Linked DNA regions of Homo sapiens: region 1 is linked to region 2. The links are contacts of gene promoters, found by promoter capture Hi-C in human tissues and cell types (Jung and others, 2019). All regions are on one chromosome and are shown on one strand. Each heading gives the region's core, a stretch centred on a gene start or on the middle of the fragment in contact. The rest is flanking DNA. Distances are from core to core; before and after follow the strand shown.

Region 1 (3,545 bases), core at 284-2,783, 450 kb before region 2:
AAAAGGATACGGCGCAAACCCCAGGAATGCCTCGCCTATGCGCTCAGAGCCACAACTGCCTTCGCGAAAAGCTCTGCCAAAGGGCGGTTGCGCCGCATCACGTGCCTGCGGCGTAATCTCCCACTGGGCAGCGGCGCTGGCTCACGTGACACGTGCAGGCCAATGCCTGGCGTCCGCGCATTTGGCTCCTGGTTGCTAGGCGACGCCAACCCGATTCTGGTTGCTGGAGTTTATCCTCCCGAGGTTGCTGTGCGAGTTTCGGACTCAGCTCAAGCGCTTGGATCCCTACAGCACCTGCGAGGGCTTCTCCTGGCTGCCGCTTTCGTTCTGGCGAATGTTCGGGGTGGCAGCCCCCCTTCGAGGCTTGCACGAGGGCGTCCCGGCATCCGCGATCAAGCGGGCCCTGCTGCTTTTGGGGCTGACCCTGCGGCTGGGGTGCTGCGGCGTCGCTCTGGCTATGCCCGGTCCACTCACGGACTCCCTGCTTTGGCCTGCTCAGCTCAGGAGAACCGGGCCCGACTCCATTTCGGGCAGTGGTGGACAGGGAAACTAGTGCCTGCCTGTAGTGGTCCCAGGCATAGAGCTTCCTGCAGCTACCCTGTGGCTTAGTTCACGTTTTGTTGCTTTGACCACCGATGAGAAATGTGCAGTAGGGACCCTGTAGGAGTCTGCTTACCCGAAATGGTTTCTGTCTTGAATAGTTGTTGAGTGAAAGGTAACGTGTTTCGATTAAATATATATGTGTGTGTGTGTGTGTATTCCCAGAAGTGAAAAGACTTAAATATTCTTTTTTTTTTTTTTTTGAAATGGAGTCTCGCTCTGTCGCCCAGGTTGGAGTGCAGTGGCGCGGTCTCGGCTCACTGCAACCTCTGCCTCCCGGGTTCTCTGCCTCAGTCTCCCAGTAGCTGGGATTACAGGCGCCCACCACCACGCCTAGCTAATTTTTTTTTTTTTTTTTTTTTTTTTTTTTTTTTTTTAGTAGAGACGGGGTTTCACCATCTTGGCCAGGCTAGTCTTGAACTCCTGACCTCGTGATCCACCCACCTCGGCCTCCCAAAGTGCTGGAATTACAGGTGTGAGCCACTGCGCCTGGCCTAGGATTTTCAATCTAGAAACGGTCGTGGAGTGTCTGGGACTTGTATGTAGCTCGCTGTTTACTAGAGGGTTTGGTATTTCACGTGTATTTAATTTATATTTGGATTGGATTTTACTTACTTTTCTAATCAGCCTGTGAACTAAAGTGAACAAACAGGTTTCAGTGCCCTTTGTTTTCAGACATAAGGAAACATGACCGGAGAAATTATAGTCATGCATTGTTTAACAGAGATATGAGAAATGCATCTTAGGTGAATCTATCATTGGAATATCATAGAGTTTTTTTGTTTGTTTGTTTTGTTTTTGAGACAGGGTCTTGCTGTGTCGCTCAGGCTGCAGTGCAGTGGTGCCATGACAGCTCGCTGCAACCTCGATCTGCTGTGATACTTCTGCCTCAGCCTCCTGAGTAGCTGGGACTGCAGGCCTGCATCACCATGCCAGACTAATTTTTTAAAATTAAATTATATATTTTTGTATATTTTAATTTTCTTTTTATAGAGAAAGGGTCTTGCTATGTTTCTCAGGCTGGTCTCGAACTCCTGGTCTCAAGCAATCCACCTGCCTCAGCCCCCCAAAGTGCTGGGATTACAGGCCTGAGCTACCATGTCTAGACCACAGCCGGCTAATTTTAATTTTTTTTGTATAGACAGGGTTTCTCCCTCTGTTGCCCAGTCTGGTCTCCAACTTCTGGGCTCAAGCAGTCTTCCTGCCTTGACCTTCTAAAGTGTTGGAATTACAGGCATGAGCCACTGAGTCCTGCCCATAGAGTGTACTTACGCAAACCTAGATAGTATAGCCTACTGCACACCTAGGCTATATGATACAGCCTACTGCTCCTACGCTACAAATCTCTACAGCATGTTACTGTACTGTATACTGTAGGCAATTGTAACACAATGGTTGGTATTTTTGTATCTAAACATAGAAAGGGTACACTAAAAATGGTACAATAAAAATACAATATTGTAATCTGATGGAACCACTGTCTTATATGCAGTCTGTTGTTGACTAAAGATCATGTGACATGTGACTGTATTTGCTCAATGTATTGCATGGAGAGGGCCAGTGCTTCTCAAATGTGTGTAGTAACCACTTAGCAATCTTTTGTTTTTTTAAGACGGAGTCTCACTCTGTCACCCACGCTGGAGTGCAGTGGTGCGATCTTGGCTCACTGCAACCTCTGCCCCCCGGGTTCAAGCAATTCTCCTGCCTCAGCCTCCTGAGTAGCTGGGATTTCAGGCGCACACCACCACGCCCGGCTAATTTTTGTATTTTTAGTAGAGACGGGGTTTCACCACCTTGGCCAGGCTGGTCTTGAACTCCTGACCTCGTGATCCACCCCCCTCGGCCTCCCATAGTGCTGGGATTACAGGCGTGAGCCACCGCGCCCGGCCAGGAACCTTGTTAAACTGTATATTCTGATTCATTAGGTCTGGAGCAGGTCCTGAGAATTTCTGCAGTTCTGACAAGCTCCCAGGTGTATATGATTCTGCTGGTGTGATGCACGCCTCAAATAGCAGTAGCCCTAAGTGACACGGTTAATAGCACAATTGCCTCCTTTCCATATCTGATTCTTATGCCCAAACAACAATTTCTTAATATTTATGAAATTTCAGTTACATATGAAGAGAAAGTCATAGGATGGAAATGACAAATAGCGTTGCCAAGATAGAATTTTTATTAAGGATTCATTTTGCTTATTTTATTACTTGAAAATCTGAGAATTCACAATATTGGAAATAATGGGCTTAAAAATATCAAGCTGGCTGGGTGTGGTAGCTCGAGCCTGTAATCCCAGCACTTGGGAGGCCGAGGCGGGGGGATCACCTGAGGTCAGCAGTTTGAGACCAGCCTGGCCAACATGGTGAAACCCCATCTCTACTAAAAATACAAAAATTAGCCAGGCATGGTGGTGGGCGCCTGTAATCCCAACTTCTCGGGAGGCTGAGGCAGGAGAATTGCTTGAACCCACGAGGCGGGGTTTGCAGTGAGCCAAGATGGCACCACTGCACTCCAGCTTGGGCCACAAGAGCAAAACTCCATCTCGAAAAAAAAAAAAGTATCCAGCGACACGGTAGCTCACGCCTGTAATCCCAGCACTTTGGCTGGTCAAGGCAGGTGGATCACGAGGTCAGGAGTTCAAGAACAGCCTGGCCAAGATGGTGAAACCCCATCTCTAATAAAAACGACAAAAATTAGCTGGGCACAGTGGCAGGCACCTGTAATCCTAGCTACTCGGGAGGCTGAGGCAGGAGAATCGCATGAACCTGGGCGGCAGATGTTGCAGTGAGCCGAGATTGCGCCACTGAACTCCAGCCTGGGCGACAGAGAGACTCCATCTCAAAAGAAAAAAAAAAAGTATTAAGCTTTTTGTTGTTAGAAAGTCTTTAACTGCTGGGCGTTGTGGCTCACGCCGGTAATCCCAGCACTTTGGGAGGCCAAGGCAGGCG
Region 2 (3,375 bases), core at 223-2,722:
GAAGCCGTGAGGAGCAGGTTCACCACTAGCCTCCTCTCTCTTTCTTTGGCCTTTTCTCCCAGTCTGGGGGTACCTCTCAATTGGTGGAGTGAGATATTTGGAGGGGCAGGGGCTCTGTCCCAATAGGTCAGGATCCTCTTGTGACAGGTTTCCGGGGTGTGAAAGCTGTTCACGGTCCCAGGGCCAACAGTTCCCTAGACAAGCTGTTCTCCGGGTAACCCATTCAAAAGGAAAGCCAGAAGCCGGCCGGTCCTAGAGGGGAAAGCCTTCCACCCGCTGACTTACCTCCCGGTTCGGGTCCCTGCCCCGCCCACCTCGTCCCCGCCCACCCCACTCCGGCAGCGCCCGGGTTCCCAGCAGCCAGACCTCCCCTGCTGTTGGGAAGGACCCGCAGTCCCATGCACCGTCACAGGCACCTCGGAGCGCTGCGCAGGACACCCCACGGGCTGCTCCCTGGGGAAACCGTGGGGGAGGGGCCAGGTCTCTCGCCCCCACCGCTGGTTGGGAAAGAGACCATTATCCTGTAATGCAGACCAGGCGCGCCGGGCCAAGCGCCTCCCGTTTGTGCGCTGATTTGAGATCTGATTTGTACTCTGCTCTCCCCTAGGCCCGGTAACGTAACTTACCGCTGAGTGCTTGCTGGGTGCTGGGCATGAATGCCCCGCCGCACCCTGGGACGTTGTCATGTCAGTTTCACAGATGAAGAAACCGACGCGCTCAGGGAAGGACTCGAGTTTCAATCCACTTTGCTCATGCCCGATTCTTTACCCCCGTGTTTGCTTGTAGAGCGACACACACACATACACACACACGAATCTAAATCCCTAAAAGGCCCCGACTTCCATACAGTAAGGGATGCGCGAGCAAAGCGCCAAGGTGGTTTCCTGGGACCTACTGGGAAGTTCTGCTCCTAACCACGCGCTGAAAGCGCTTCTGGCGAAGCCAAGGGTTCGAAGCCCGCCGGGCGGATAGCACCTGTTCCCGCCAACAGGGGGCCCCCAAGGCCAGCTGCCTTCCCCAGCCGAGGCCAGCTGGCCAGGCGCGGTGCCCGGGAGGCGGGAGCGTCCCGCGCCGGCGGGGCGCGGCCGCAGAGGGTGCGGGGTGCGGAGTCCTCCCGGTGGTCGACCCCAGGCGGGAAGCGCTCGGCGGACAGACGGACGGACAGGAGACCCAAACGGGCCTCGGCCCCCTTACACGGCCCTGTGGGGAACCGACAGCGCGCCGCGGGAAGCAGCGGGCGCAAGGCGCGGCGGCTGAGACTCACCCGGGAGGCGGCGGGTCCGGCTCCGTCTCGGCTGGGCGGTCCGGGACTGCGGGCTTCGCGACCCCCGCGCCCCACCCGGGCGGCCTCCTCGGTGGGCGCCGCGATCGCGGGGCTGGGGTTCGGGGGATTCTTAGCCGAGGGAACGCAGTGGTGGAGAGGGCGCACTGCCCTCTCAGGGACCGGGTTGGGGACGCAGGAAGCGCGGCCTGGGAGCGCCGGCGTGCGGGAGGGAGGGACCGCGGGAGGCGGAGGGCGGTGCCGGCCAGGAGCGGCCTCCAGCCCGGAGAAGCACCGCCCACCGGCCGACCCTCCCTCCCGGCCCTCGGCACCACCCCCGGGCCCGAGGCGAGGGATCGCAGCTGAGCGAGGCGGGCACCCACTCCCCAGCGTATGCCGCTGGAGCGCGCTGAGCGTGTGCCGGGGGCTGGGCCTAAGTTCTCCCCAACCCTTGCCAGCCGAGTTGGATAAGAGGGGGTCGGGAGAAAATAGAGCCCTGATCCCCCCTCCTCCCTAGGGCCCAGAGAATCGGTGTGCATGCGTGTGTGCGCGCACGCGCGTGTGTGTGACGGGTGGTGGTCGGGGAATGTCTCAAGCTAGAAGTCCCAGGTTTTAGGGGTTTAAGTGGAGCTGGGAGACCCGCTTTCCTCCCACACCAGGCGCAGACGCCGAGGCACAGCTCCGCCAGCCGCCCCGCCTTTACCTGGCGGGATACTCACCTCTCCTCCTTCCTGGGGAGGCCACCGCCTCCCTCTCCCCCTTCTGCCCTGGGCTGGTTCCCAGCGAGGTGAGTGACCGGCACAAGTAGGGAAGGAGGAAGCGAGTTTTTAAAAACTGAGTCAGCTCACGCCCTCGGCCAGGGTCCCCACCCGATGCGTGGTCCCCAGGGCGCCCTCGGGATCGCACGCCCGAGTCCCGGCCCAGGTGGGGCCCATTCCGGGTTCTTGCGCGCGGGCAATGGATGGGGGCGCGCTGCACCGGGAGCCTGCCCTGCTGAGGGCTCATCCCCAGCTTTGCCGAGAACTTTCCCGGCGAGGCACCGGCTGGCGTTTTCCCAGCCTGCGAGTGGCAGGCGGGCAGCCAGTCTCTGCTCGGATCCACGGAGGCCCGGAGCCGCCACGGAGTTCTGGCTCCGGGGAGTGCAAACCCGAAGTCGGCGCGGAAGCCTCTCACCCGCGGCTCTGCCTCCGCCCCTTGGAGATCTGCCCTCGGAACTGCGTTGCTCTGGCGCCCGAACTAGGGTGGGCTGGTTTCAGCCAGACCGCCAAAAAACGTGGATGCTAAACACAGAGGGAAGAGCCAGCTCCCATTCCCTCTCTGAGCCTTAGATTTTTTTGAATTCCGAGAGAGGTCAGGCCGGGGTCCCCTTCTTGGGTGAGCGTCCAGCCCTTTGAAGTTCAAACACTGAGAAGCCGATAGGCAGCTGGCTGGCGTCACAGGATCGAGCCGAGGACTGAAGGCGCCTCCTACCGGGAATCCACCGCCTCCAGACGAAAATAGGCTGCAATCAAGTTCACTTCCAAAGGCGGAATTCATGGGTACATATGGTGTCCACGTGTGTACACCTGCAGAGTTGTAACATGCGGGCATTTCTCCCCTCAGCCCGCCATTCTGGCTTCTTAACTTGCACCCTAACAGCTCGACAGAACCTTGGCGTCCACAAAAAGGCAAGTTTGGGTCTGCCTTATGATTTGGGGGTGGGAAGGCATTTGGGGAAACAGTCTCCATGTCTATGACAGCAACTGCTATTCCTCACATCCTTGCTATGAACCAGGGGCGGGGTTACCACCCACATCCCCTGAACCATCTCATTTAATCCTCATAACCTAGGAGGCGGTTATTTGTTATGCCCACTTTATAGAAGAGAAGGCTGAGGCTTAAGGAGGTGAGGTCATTTTGCCCAGTGAAAACACAGCTGGGAAGTATCAGGATCTAGACCCAAGATGATCCACTCCAGAGCTTCTGCTCTCCCTCCCATAGCATAATTCCTCCTGTCTGCACATACTCTCCACCCTGAGAGAATGTTCACCTTGCCTGGCCACCTGCAAATGCGGAATAAACATTTGTTGGATGAATGAAAGCCCTAAATAATAACCCATGATTTTAGTGAATAG

What was found. Contacts are between HindIII fragments. The study calls those that stand out against the background at their distance.
Region 1: a fragment that was not itself captured here is called in contact with the fragment with the promoter of TMEM51 in region 2 in 1 of the 25 tissues and cell types used here (pancreas).

Annotation. Positions count from the first base shown.
Region 1 is chr1:15,600,259-15,603,803 of GRCh38, reverse strand. It overlaps LOC124903854 (a long non-coding RNA gene), which reads left to right and starts at 261. Exons shown (of 3, transcript XR_007065483.1): 1 at 261-715. The HindIII fragment of the contact is 5,748 bases long and covers 1-3,545 here.
Region 2 is chr1:15,151,844-15,155,218 of GRCh38, reverse strand. It overlaps TMEM51 (transmembrane protein 51), which reads right to left and starts at 1,472. Exons shown (of 4, transcript NM_001136218.2): 1 at 1,265-1,472. It overlaps TMEM51-AS1 (TMEM51 antisense RNA 1), which reads left to right and starts at 2,755. Exons shown (of 5, transcript NR_027136.1): 1 at 2,755-2,928. RefSeq lists enhancers at 1-628, 760-849, 629-1,290 and silencers at 1,000-1,179, 1,270-1,319, 1,380-1,649. The HindIII fragment of the contact is 16,508 bases long and covers 1-3,375 here.